2 separate regions of the Homo sapiens genome follow, and region 1 is linked to region 2. Evidence: promoter capture Hi-C in 16 types of primary human blood cells and fetal thymus (Javierre and others, 2016). All regions are on one chromosome and are shown on one strand. The core of a region is centred on a gene start or on the middle of the fragment in contact, and the rest is flanking DNA. Distances in the headings are between cores, read along the strand shown.

Region 1 (6,599 bases), core at 119-2,618, 1.5 Mb after region 2:
CTGAGATCCACTTCTGATAAGTAGGAAGTTCAAAATGGGAAGGCTGTGGGTTCCTGCCCACACTGTCATCGAAACCTTTCTTGCTTAGAACTAGCTCCACATGCTGCCATAGGAATTCCCGAAGAGTGAAATCCACTAGCTGGCCTGAAGAACTGGAACTGCTGCTGTCAATGTGAAAGGAAAGTTGTTGTCGGCTGTGCTGCCTCATCACCTGGTATCGCCTAGGCCCAGAAAGGGGTGCAGGCACCAGCAAAGATTCCGGGTCCTTCACAGTACAATGACTCCTAAGTTGGTCCAGCAACATACCTACTGGGTCCTCCTCCTGGCTTCCCGGTACTATGTACACGAAAGCTTGGTTGGCAGGCACAGTAAAGAGGCAGTTGATGCTCTGATTAGTCAAGACACGACTCTTCCGGAAGATTCTATAGATCTGGTCCTCCAGGGCATGCTGCAGCCTCCTTTTGGGAGAATGTTTCTTGGGCTTGTCTGGATGAGCTGGGTCTTGGTTCCGAGGAGGTTCTACCTTGAGGGCTCCATTGAGTTGAAAGAGGAAAAGGAGTCTAGGTGGGCAAGGTCGGCAGTTTAGCTTCCAGTCTTTGCCAACTGGACAATCCTTAATGGCTGTTTTAAGGAGCGGCAGGACCTTCTGTCTCAGCCCATCCAGGGCTCTGAATACTCGATCATAAGTGATATCAAAGGAACAAGTGGGATGGACCAGAAGCAAGATATGACAGACAGAGAATAGGTAAAGGAGACTGAGGCACTGCAGCTTCTCTTGATGCTTCCAGAACTCGTGTGCTTCTGCATGAGGTAAAGAGAGTCCACCTCCAGCTTCCCCGCTCTGAAGAGCCCGACAAGCCCGGAGAAGCTGTGAATTGTCACAGATGGAGGTGAGGAGAAGATACAGAACTTTGCTTTCCTGACTGTAGTAGGCCTGCAGAAGGCTGTAGTCCTGGGAGCCTGCCTCAGTTCGGTTACCTTCCGCGACAGCTCCACTTCCCCGAACTGAACCCCCGGCTGCAGCCCCAGGGTCCTCGGCTCCACCGGCCTCACCCACGGCGCCAGCCTCAGTTCTGATTCCAGGTCCTGGATCCCCAGGATCTTGGTGGCGAAAGAGAGGAAAGACCTGTCGGTCGCACACCGTATTCACAAGAGAGAACTTCTCGGAATTCAGGCGTAGAGCCGTCTTGCCGAAGATTCCCACAACGCAGATCTCATCCTCCCGCCATGGAGGCTCCGGTCCGCCAGCCGCGCTCCCTCCGCCCTCAGTAGGGGACCCTCCGGGACTTTCAGAGCCCATCCAGGCTGATGCTCCCATTAGAAGGTCTCGCAAGCTCACGGGACCAGCCATAGTGCAGAGCGTTCTCTAGAGTCCTTCCGGTCCGTTAGTAAAACCGACCGGCTTTCGTCCAATTTTGAAATCCTTCCTCCGCTTCTTCAGTTCCTGCTTTCCCGTCACTTGAGTTCCGCCTCCTCTTCTCCTCTCCTAGTTTGTTTCCTCAACTGTAGGAATTGAGATATCAAAAACAAAAAACAAAAAAACAAAACAAAACTGGGACTACTGCGGTGGCTCACGCCTGTAATCCTAGCACTTTGGGAGGCCAAGGCGGGCGGATCACCTGAAGTCAGGAGTTCGAGACCAGGCTGGCCAACATGGTGAAACCCCATCTCTACTAAAAATACGAAAATTAGCCGGGCGTGGTGGCGGGCGCCTGTAATCCCAGCTACTCGGGAGGCTGAGGCAGGACAATCGCTTGAACCCGGGAGGCGGAAGTTGCAGTGAACCGAGATCACACCATTGCACTCCAGCCTGGGCAACAAGAGCGAAAACCGTCTAAAAAAAAAAAAAAAAAAAAAAAAAAAAGCAAAAATTAGGCGTGGTGGCGCATACCTGTAGTTCCAGCTGCTCAGGAGGCTGAGGCAGGAGAATTGCTCGAACCAGGAGGTGGAGGTTGCAGTGAGCCGAGATCACCCCGCTGCACTCCAGCCTGGGCGACAGAGTGAGACTCCGTCTCAAAAAAAAAAAAAATTGCGAAATATCTTTGTATGTAAATTATAACTTGCAGAACCTCTCTAACTAGAAGGCATATTGACAAATAGCTGCCAGGATAAAACTTACAACCAGATTTAAATGTATAATTATAACGTTTATTATTCTGGGGTTTTGTAAAAAATAAAAATCTTTGAATCTAAAAAAATTATCTATAGCACTATACAATAACATGACTGAATCTTTAAAATAAATGTTGATTGAAAGAAATCAGAAACAAAAGTGTATATACCCTATAATTCTATTTTTTTTTTTTTTTTTTTTTTTTTTTGGAGATGCAGTCTTGCTCTGTGGCCAGGCTAGAGTTCAGTGGCGCGATCTCGACTCACTGCAACCTCCGGCTCCCCGGTGCAAGTGATTCTCTTGCCTCAGCCTCCCAAGTAGCTGGGATTACAGGTGCGTGAGACCACACCCAGCTAACTTTTGTATTTTTAATAGAGACAGGATTTCACCATGTTGGCCAGGATAGTCTCAATCTCCTGATCTCATGATCTGCCCGCCTCGGCCTCCCAAAGTGGTGGGATTACAGGCGAGAGCCACTGCGCCAGGCCTGATTTTATTTCTATAGAGTTCAAAAGCAAGCAAAATAAACCATTGCATTTAGGGGTGTGTTCTTACTAAAAGCAAGGAAATATTTATTGTACCAAGTAGGTCAGTGATTACTTAGTGAGGGAAGGGATTATGATATAATATATATATTATATATATACATAATAATATATATTACACATATACATAATAATATATATTATATATATACATAATAATATATATTATATATATTTTGAGACAGAGTCTTGCTCTGTTGCCCAGAGTGGAGTACAGTGGTGCAATCTAAGCTCACTGCAAACTCCACCTCCCAGGTTCAAGTGATTCTACTGCCTCAGCCTCCCAAGGAGCTGGGATTACAGGTGCACCACCATGGGCGGCTAATTTTTGTATTTTTAGTAGAGATGGTGTTTCACCATGTTGGCCAGGCTGGTCTCGAACTCCCGACCTCACATCATCCACCCACCTCGGCCTCCCAAAGTGCTGGGATTACAGGTGTCAGCCACCACACCTCGCCTCCGGCCTAAAATTTTTTTTTTTTTTTTTTGTGAGACAGAGTCTCACTCTGTCACCCAGGCTGAAGTGCAGTGGTGCTATCTGGGATCACGGCAACCTCCATCTCCTATTCCCTGTCTCCGTCTCCTCAAGCAATTCTTCTGCCTCAGCCTCCCAAGTAGCTGGGATTACAAGCACGTACCACCACGCCCACCTAAACTTGTATTTTTAGTAGAGATGGGGTTTCCCCACGTTAGCCAGGCTGGTCTCGAACTTCCAACCCCAGGTGATCTGCCCACCCCGGCCTCCCAAAGTGCTGGGATTATAGGTTTGAGCCATCACGCTCGGCATTGATTTTTTAATTCATATATTTTCTATACTTACTATATACTTTTTTGTTTTTTTGAGACAGAGTCTCACTCTGTTGCCCAGGCTGGAGTGCAGTGGCGTGATCTCAGCTCCCTGCAAGCTCTGCCTCCCGGGTTCATGCCATTCTCCTGCCTCAGCCTCCCAAGTAGCTGGGACTACAGGCGCCTGCCACCACGCCCGGCTAATTTTTTGTATTTTTAGTAGAGACCAGGTTTCACCGTGTTAGCCAGGATGGTCTTGATCTTCTGACCTCATGATCCACCTGCCTTGGGCTCCCAAAGTGCTGGGATTACAGGCGTGAGCCACTGCGCCCGGCCAATATATACTTTTCTATAGGTATTATTATTTCTAGTTAAAAAAAAAGGTTAAAAAGGGAAAAACCAAAACTTTTATTAATCTTTATTTAAAGATGCAAGGTAGAACACATTTTAACACTGTACAATGGCAGTAGCAGCTTTGCAAATGTTTATCTATATGGACTTTTTTTTCCTGCCTGGCTTCGTTATATAGCAAAGCATTTTTCTTTTTTCTTTCTTTTTTTTTTTTTTTTTTTTTTGAGACAGCATCTTGCTCTGTCACCCAGCAGGCTGGAGTGCAGGTGGTATGAACACTGCTCGCTGGAGCCTCAACCTCCTGGACTCAAGTGATTCTCCCACCTCAGTCTCCCGAGTAGCTGGGACTACAGGCACATGCCACCATGCCCGGCTAATTTTTTGTTTTTTGTAGAGACAGGGTCTTGCAATGTTGCCCATACTGGTTTCAAACTCTTGGCCTCAAGTGATCCTCCCACCTCAGCCTCCCAAAGTGCTGGGATTACAGGTGTGAGCCACTGTGCCTGGCCCCCAAGCCTATAATTTTTTAATTTATATATTTTTCTATACTTAACATATACTTTTTTTTTTTTTGAGACAGTTTCGCTCTTGTTGCTCAAGCTGGAGTACAATGGGGCGATCTCGGCTCACTGCAACCTTTGCCTCCCAGGTTCAAGCCATTCTGGCTCAGCCTTCCCAGTAGCTGGGATTACAGGTGTCTGCCACTATGCCCGGCTAATTTTTGTATTTTTAGTAGAGACAGGGTTTCACCATGTTGGCCAGACTGGTCTCGAACTCTTGACCTCAGGTGATCTGCCTGCCTCGGCCTCCCAAAGTGCTGGGATTATAGGCATGAGCCACCGCACCCGGCCAACATTTACTTTTCTATAGGTATTATATTTCTAGTTTAAAAAGAAGGTTAGAAAGAGAAAAACCAAAACTTTTATTAATCTTTATTTTAAAACATAACCAGATGCACCTTGGTTGTTTACATTCTCTGGTTGCCATTCAGTCTCAAAGTAAACACTGGGAGCATATGATAAATCGTAGTTTAAGGAAGCCATAGCACTTACAGAGTTCTCAAATGGTTACAATATAAAATCTGTCATAAAAATCAGTAAAAGATGCAAGGTAGAACACATTTTAACACTGGTACAATGGCAGTAGCAGCTTTGCAAATGTTTGTCTATATGATTTCCACAGGACTTTTTTTTTTTGCCTGGCCTCATTATGTAGCAAAGCATTTTTTCTTTTCTTTTTGAGATGGAGTCTTGCTCTGTTACCCAGCAGGCTGGAGTGCAGTGGTATAAACACAGCTCACTGCAGCCTCAACCTCCCGGGCTCAAGTGATTCTTCCACCTCAGTCTCCTGAGTAGCTGGGACTACAGGCACACATCACCGCTCCCGGCTAATTTTTCGTTTTTTGTAGAGTTGGGGTCTTGCAGTGTTGCCCAGGCTTGTTTTGAACTCTTGGCCTCAAGCGAACCTCCTGCCTTAGCCTCCCAAAGTGCTAGGATTATAGGTGTGAGCCACTGCACTGGGCCATAAAGCATTTTTCTTTTTCTTTCTTTTTTTTTTGAGACAAGGTCTCACTCTGTTGCCCAGACTGTAGTGCAGTAGTGTGATCTCAGCTCACTGCAACCTCCACTTCCATCGTTCAAGTGATTCTCACGCCTCAGTCTTCTGAGAAGCTGAGACTATAGGCACATGCCACCACACCCAGATAATTTTTATATATTTTTTTTGGTAGAGACGGGGTTTCACCATGTTGGCCAGGCTGGTCTCAAACTCCTGACCTCAAGTGATACACCCACCTCGGCCTCCCAAAGTGCTGGGATTACAGGTGTGAGCCACTGTGCCTGGCCCCCAAGCCTATAATTTTTTAATTTATATATTTTTCTATACTTAACATATACTTTTTTTTTTTTTTTGAGACAGTTTCGCTCTTGTTGCTCAAGCTGGAGTGCAATGGGGCGATCTCGGCTCACTGCAACCTCTGCCTCCCAGGTTCAAGCCATTCTGGCTCAGCCTTCCCAGTAGCTGGGATTACAGGTGTCTGCCACTATGCCCGGCTAATTTTTGTATTTTTAGTAGAGACAGGGTTTCACCATGTTGGCCAGACTGGTCTCGAACTCTTGACCTCAGGTGATCTGCCTGCCTCGGCCTCCCAAAGTGCTGGGATTATAGGCATGAGCCACCGCACCCGGCCAACATTTACTTTTCTATAGGTATTATATTTCTAGTTTAAAAAGAAGGTTAGAAAGAGAAAAACCAAAACTTTTATTAATCTTTATTTTAAAACATAACCAGATGCACCTTGGTTGTTTACATTCTCTGGTTGCCATTCAGTCTCAAAGTAAACACCGGGAGCATATGATAAATCGTAGTTTAAGGAAGCCATAGCACTTACAGAGTTCTCGAATGGTTACAATATAAAATCTGTCATAAAAATCAGTAAAAGATGCAAGGTAGAACACAGTTTAACACTGGTACAATGGCAGTAGCAGCTTTGCAAATGTTTGTCTATATGATTTCCACAGGACTTTTTTTTTTTTGCCTGGCCTCATTATGTAGCAAAGCATTTTTTCTTTTCTTTTTGAGATGGAGTCTTGCTCTGTTACCCAGCAGGCTGGAGTGCAGTGGTATAAACACAGCTCACTGCAGCCTCAACCTCCCAGGCTCAAGTGATTCTCCCACCTCAGTCTCCTGAGTAGCTGGGACTACAGGCACACATCACCGCTCCCGGCTAATTTTTCGTTTTTTGTAGAGTTGGGGTCTTGCAATGTTGCCCAGGCTTGTTTTGAACTCTTGGCCTCAAGCAATCC
Region 2 (6,170 bases), core at 1,046-3,545:
TTTTTTTTTTTGGAGACAGAGTCTTGCTGTGTCGCCCAGGCTAGGGTGCAGTGGCGCGATCTCAGCTCACTGCAAGTTCCACCTCCCAGGTTCACGTCATTCTCCTGACTCAGCCTCCCGAGTAGCTGGGACTACAGGGGCCACCATACCCGGCTAATTTTTTGTATTTTTAGTAGAGACAGGGTTTCACCGTTTTAGCCAGGATGGTCTCGATCTCCTGATCTCGTGATCCGCCTGCCTGGGCCTCCCAAAGTGCTGGGATTACAGGCATGAGCCACTGCGCCCGGCCTCTATTTCATTTTCTACTACAACTCCTGACCCACTAAACTGATTTAACAATCCACTAATTTGTTAAACCTGGAGTTTGAAAACACTGCTCTTCAGGATTTAGCATAGTGCTCTTCACGTACTCTGTAAATGTGCTGAATACGTCAACTTAACTCTCCAATTCTTCATTTGGTCTTGGCAATTATTATTATTCATCCCATAAAGCCAACAGTTAAAAGATTTTTACAAAAGTAACCACTGTTCATAAAGAAAACCTAAATGTTAGTATTCTGAGTAATCTTTTCTTCAGCTATTGGGTTTATCTGAAATGTGCTTACGTGACAGCCTGGGGGCGAACCACAACTCCACCAGTACAACGACTGGGTCTTCTTGGGGAATCTGTAGCCATAGCTTCATTCATAAAACCTGTTTCCAGAACAAACAAACAAACAAAAAACAGAAAAACATGGATCGTTGTTGGGGGTAGGGAGGAAGATTTATGATTACTCACTAGAGATCCCTTGTCAAAAATGCCTCAAATGTAGGAAACTTTCCCAGAAATTCCTGTTACACCAGAAAGGGAAAAAAGGAGGAAGTAGGTTTTTAATTTTTTTCAAATTATAATGAGGGGTTTGGGGGGTTATTATTATTTTTGAGATAGAGTCTCGCTCTGTCGCCCAGGCTGGAGTTCAGTGGCACGATCTCTGCTCATGGCAATCTCCGCCTCCCAGGCTCAAGCAATTCTCCTGCCTCAGCCTCCTGAGTAGCTGGGATTACAGGCGAGCGCCACCATGCCGAGCTAAATTTTATATTTTTTTGTAGCGACGGGGTTTCACCATGTTGCCAAGGCTGGTCTCGAACTCCTGAGCTCAAGCAATCCATCCGCCTTAGCCTCCCAAAGTGCTGGGATTATAGGCTTGAGCCACCGCGCCCATCCTGTTTTGTTTTTTAATAGGACCAGGTCTCAGAACCACAAAACAATGTAAGGAAGACTCCTGCTGTACCCCTTGGTCTGTTGTTAACATAAATTACAAGGGTGAGAGAACCAGATCATGGGATGGGAATTTACTGCAATTTTATGTTGAGATAGTGAAAATACACATGGTACAATATTTCAAGACCAAACGGAACAAGTGACATGATATCACTCTACCTTCCAATTAAACCTGTTGGGAATCTATGAGTAAATCACAATTTAAATCACATTCGTAACCCCCTGCTACTATAACAAATAAGTCAAGTAATTATTTGACTAGTAGCAAGTAGTCAAATAACTAACATAAACTAATACGTTGTTACAGCCCTTTACCCTTTCCCGTCACATCAGTAAATCCTGATCCTAGAATGTTTCATGACCCTCTGAATCACTGAGATTTTAAGAGCATGGAGTCGGCTTGGTTAAGGTTAAAAGAGGACTGACAGCAATATCAAAGATCTCTTACAGGGCTCAGGGAAGCCCACAACCTGGAACTCATCTTGAAGGCACCGAAAACCATTTTTAAGTAGGGAGCATTCACACCTGATGTGAAAACTCTAAACCTGTGCGCCCCACCTCCTACAACCAAAACACCCTCTGCCCCAAGGAGCAGAGCCACCACCTCCTCAGAGGATACCTGCACCTCCAGCCCCTCAGCCCTCTCATTCTCATCCCATTCTTGCTTTCTCGAACCACAGTCTCCCAAGCCCTGCCCTTTAAGGGCCCTGTCTCCTGGGGACGACCCTCGCCAGCCACTCAGGCCCCAGTCTCCTGAAAGACACTCGTACGGCGCTGCCCACTTAACCTCCAACACGGAGCCACCGCTGCCCCCGGCCGCCCTCCGGCCCCTTGCACTGTTCCCCTCCCCCTCCAGTATCGACACCTCTCTCCTGTCGAATTCCTGCCAGCCCGACCCAGTCCCCTCACGCCGCCAGTCCCTCGTCCTCCCCAAGCCTCCCCAAAGCCAAAGCCCTGCCAGCCCTCTCACCGGCCGCCCCGCCGGTTAACGCTAGTCTCCAGCTCTAGGCTCACTGTTTGGAGTCTCCCCGAGTGATTGACGGCAGCCACTTCCTACCACGCCTCAGCGGAACCACCCCCTCTAGCCAATCCCAGAAGCAAACCGGCTATGGCCGGGCACCGCCCTTGGAGGTCAGCTTCGCCAACCAGCAAGTAGGAAAGAGGCGGACCCGCCTTCTGAATGTGTCCAATCCGCTGGGGCTGGAGGGAAAACACAACAGCATGTAAGTTCGGGTGAAGCCGAGGTGTCAGGTTCGGTTGCAAACGCAGGCAGCTGGGGAATAATTACGAACATGTACATTTTTTTTGGAAGACAGAACCTTCGTGGCTTTGAAAAGAAAAGCAACATGATCCAGACTCCTGTCCCGCTCACGTGAGCGTTTCAGGTTGGAGCCGGAGGACAGGGAGACTGGTCTGTTTACATCGAATTCTCGCGACAGCTGGTTCCAAGCTCGGAGCACGTGGACATGGCAGCTGCCAATCACTTTTAGCTGGCCACTCACCCGTCCCACACCCGCCTTCTGCCCAGCCCTTGGCGATGTGTTTACCTTCCGGGAGCCTAGGCTGGCTCGCGCCGGCGATCAGCCGAGGAGGGGTTGATCTGAATAAGGGGCACGGCCGGTAATCTCAACAATTTGAGCTAGGTTTGTAGACCACTTCTTGCTTCAGTTTCCATCTCCCTTATTGTTGAAGATCGAGATCTCGCCATTGTCATTTCATCAGTTCATTTATTAATATAAGTAGAATAATACTGACTGACTTCTTGAACACTCAGCACAGGCCTTCGTATACTTCATATACAATACTCTAATGTATTATCAAATTTAATGCCAATGACAGGTCCGTGAGGGTATAGCTTATTAACAGGCGTGGTGGGCTGGGCGTGGTGGCTCACGCCTGCAATCCCAACATTTTGGGAAGCCTAGGCGGGAAGATCGCTTGAGGCCAGGAGTTCTAGAACAGCCTGGACAACATGAAGAAACCCCGTCTCTACTAAAAATAGCCAGGTGTGGTGGCCAATGCCTGTAATCCTAGCTACTGGGGAGGCTGAGGCGGAAGAATTGCTTGAACCCAGGAGGCGGAGATTGCAGTGAGCCTATAGATCACGCCATTGCCCTCCAGCACTTTAGCCTGGGTGACAGAGAGTCCCTCTCAAGACAGATAGATAGATAGATAGATAGATAGATAGATAGATAGATAGATACATACATACATACATACATACATACATACATACATACATACATAAAATTTTAAAAAATTTTAAAAAAAGAAATGAAAGAAAAGGCCGGGCACGGTGGCTCACACCTGTAATCCCAGCACTTTGGGAGGCTGAGAGGGGCAGATCACTTGAGGTCAGGAGGTCAAGACCAGCCTTGCCAACTTTGTGAAACTCTGTCTCTACTAAAAATACAAAAATCAGCGGGTTTTGATGGTGCACGCCTGTAATCCCAACTACTCAGGAGGCTGAGGCAGGAGAATCGCTTGAATCCGAGATGTGAAGGTTGCAGTGAGCCGAGATCGTGCAACTGCACTCCAGCCTCTGGGCGACAGAGCAAAACTCTCGCTCAAAAAAAAAAAAAGAAGAAGAAGAAGAAGAAGAATATATTTGGAAATATTGAAATAACTTGATAATGTGGGATTGAAATAACTTGATAATGTGGAATTGTAACATTGAAAAGGAGGCCTAGCATGACTAACTCCATTTTGCTCCTAAACTCCCCACTCCCACCCATCGGTGATATCTAAGTTAACTGCTTTTGCTTATCTCTGCACATAGACTAAGCTAACCAAGGGAGGAATTTATAGTTTAACTTTAAAGCAAGGATGATAATAGTCCCTTCCCAAAACTAACCCCCAAGGAGAAAAGGAGGGTGTACACACAAGTAACAATGTTGAGAGTTTGAGAAAGTATTGTGACCTGACCAGTAACAGAGAGGCTTCAGGCCTCGAGGAACCCTTGCTGGCGCCCAGATGTCTACGGTCATCAGTCACCCCTTGATTCAAACCCTCTCTTCTTCCCCCTGCCCTTAACACAAAAAGAGCCTGAAATGTGTACTAACTTAAGATGGTTCTTCAGGCTGGGTGTGATGGCTCACACCTCTCATCCCAGCACTTTGGGAGGCCGAAATAGGTGGATCACCTGAGATCAGGAGTTCAAGACCAGACTGACCAACATGGAGAAACCCCGTCTCTACTAAAAATACAAAAATTAGCTGGACGTGGTGGTGTGCGCCTGTAGTCCCAGCTACTCGGGAGGCTGGGACAGGAGAATCACTTAAACCCGGGAGGTGGAGGTTGCAGTGAGCCAAGATCAAGGCACTGCACTCCAGCCTGGGCGACAGAGCAAGACTCCAACTTTTTTTTTTTTTTGAGATGGAGTCTCACTGTGTCACCAGGCTGGAGTGCAGTGTCTCAATCTTGGCTCACTGCAACGTCCACCTCGCGGGTTAAAGCGATTCTTCTGCCTCGGCATCCTGAGTAGCTGGGATTACAGGCACCCGCCACCACTCCTGGCTAATTCTTTGCATTTTTAGTAGTGACGGGGTTTCACCATTTTGGCCAGGCTGGTCTTGAACTCCTGACTTCATGTTCCACCCGCCCTGGCCTCCCAAAGTGCTGGAATTACAGGCGTGAGCCACCATGCCCAGCCAAAAAGATGGTTCTTTAGTACATTATTCTGCAATTTTCCGGGTTTGCTAGCTCTCAGAAATAAAGTTACTATCCTTGCTCTAACTCCTTGACTCTTCACCCCTTGGCTGTCATGCAGTGAGCAGAACAAGTTAGGACTCGGTTACAGGATGAAGGTGAGAGGTGAAGCCAGCTGGACTTCCTGGGTAGAGTGGGGACTTGGAGAACTTTTCTGTCTTAGGAGAGGATTGTAAAACACACCAGTCAGCACTCTGTAGCTAGGATTGGAAAACGCACCAATCAGCACTCTGTAGCTAGCAAGGGGATTGTAAGGTGCACCAATCAGCACTCTGTAGCTAGCAAGGGGATTGTAAAATGCACCATTCAGTGATCTGTAAAAACGCACCAATCAACGCTCTGTAGCTAGCAAGAGGATTGTAAAATGCACCAATCAGCACTCTGTAAAATGCACCAATCAGTGCTCTGTAAAATGCACCAATCAGTGCTCTGTAAAACGTACCAATCAGCAGGAGTCTAAAAGCCAATCGTGGGGAAGATTGAAGAAAGGGCACTGTGCTAGGACAGAAACGGAACATGGGCGGGGACAATAAGGGAATAAAAGCTGGCCACTCCCCCCAGCAGCGGCAACCTGCTCCAGGCCCCTTCCACTCTGTGGAAAGCTAAAAGCTTTGTTGTTTCCTTCTTTACAATAAATCTTGCTGCTGCTCATTCTTTGGGTCCATGCCACCTTTAAGAGCTATAACACTCAACGAGAAGGTCCTCGGCTTCGTTCTTGAAGTCAGACCACGAATCCACCGGAAGGAACCAACTCCGGACCCAAAGGGAAAGAATCAAGGATGTTCAAATCCAAGAAACCTTAAAGGTGTTAGAGGAAAAAAAAAAAAGATGTTTTCTGTGTTTTGGGCTTGATCAGCTGAGTGGTGCCATTTACAAATAGGATGAACACTAGCTGAGTTTTACATTTCTTGGTAAATTTCTGTGCCTTCATTGTTTCATCCTTTGTAAATTGTAGAAGGAATAATATGGGCGGGGCGCGGTGGCTCAGGCCTGTAATCCCAACACGTTGGGAGGCCGAGGAGGGCGGATCATGAGGTCAGGAGATCGAAACCATCCTAATGGTGAAACTCCATCTCTACTAAAAATACAAAAAATTAGCCAGGCGTGGTGGCTGGCGCTTGTAGTCCCAGCTACTCGGTAGGCTGAGGCAGAGAATGGCGAGAACCTGGGAGGCAGAGCTTGCAGTGAGCCGAGATCGCGC

What was found. Contacts are between HindIII fragments. The CHiCAGO score rates a contact against its expected background, and 5 or more counts as called.
Region 1: a contact is called between the fragment with the promoter of SMG8 here and the fragment with the promoter of BCAS3 in region 2, in 1 of 17 cell types (neutrophils). The highest score is 5.5, in neutrophils.

The regions. Positions count from the first base shown.
Region 1 is chr17:59,204,804-59,211,402 of GRCh38, reverse strand. It overlaps SMG8 (SMG8 nonsense mediated mRNA decay factor), which reads right to left and starts at 1,368. Exons shown (of 4, transcript NM_018149.7): 1 at 1-1,368. The coding sequence starts at 1,351. It overlaps PRR11 (proline rich 11), which reads right to left. Exons shown (of 10, transcript NM_018304.4): 10 at 4,694-6,599. RefSeq lists an enhancer at 1,490-1,559. The HindIII fragment of the contact is 12,029 bases long and covers 354-6,599 here.
Region 2 is chr17:60,673,976-60,680,145 of GRCh38, reverse strand. BCAS3 (BCAS3 microtubule associated cell migration factor) reads right to left here and starts at 2,295. Exons shown (of 24, transcript NM_017679.5): 1 at 2,232-2,295; 2 at 606-693. The coding sequence starts at 688. RefSeq lists enhancers at 2,254-2,403, 2,574-2,743 and a silencer at 2,162-2,915. The HindIII fragment of the contact is 12,302 bases long and covers 1-5,580 here.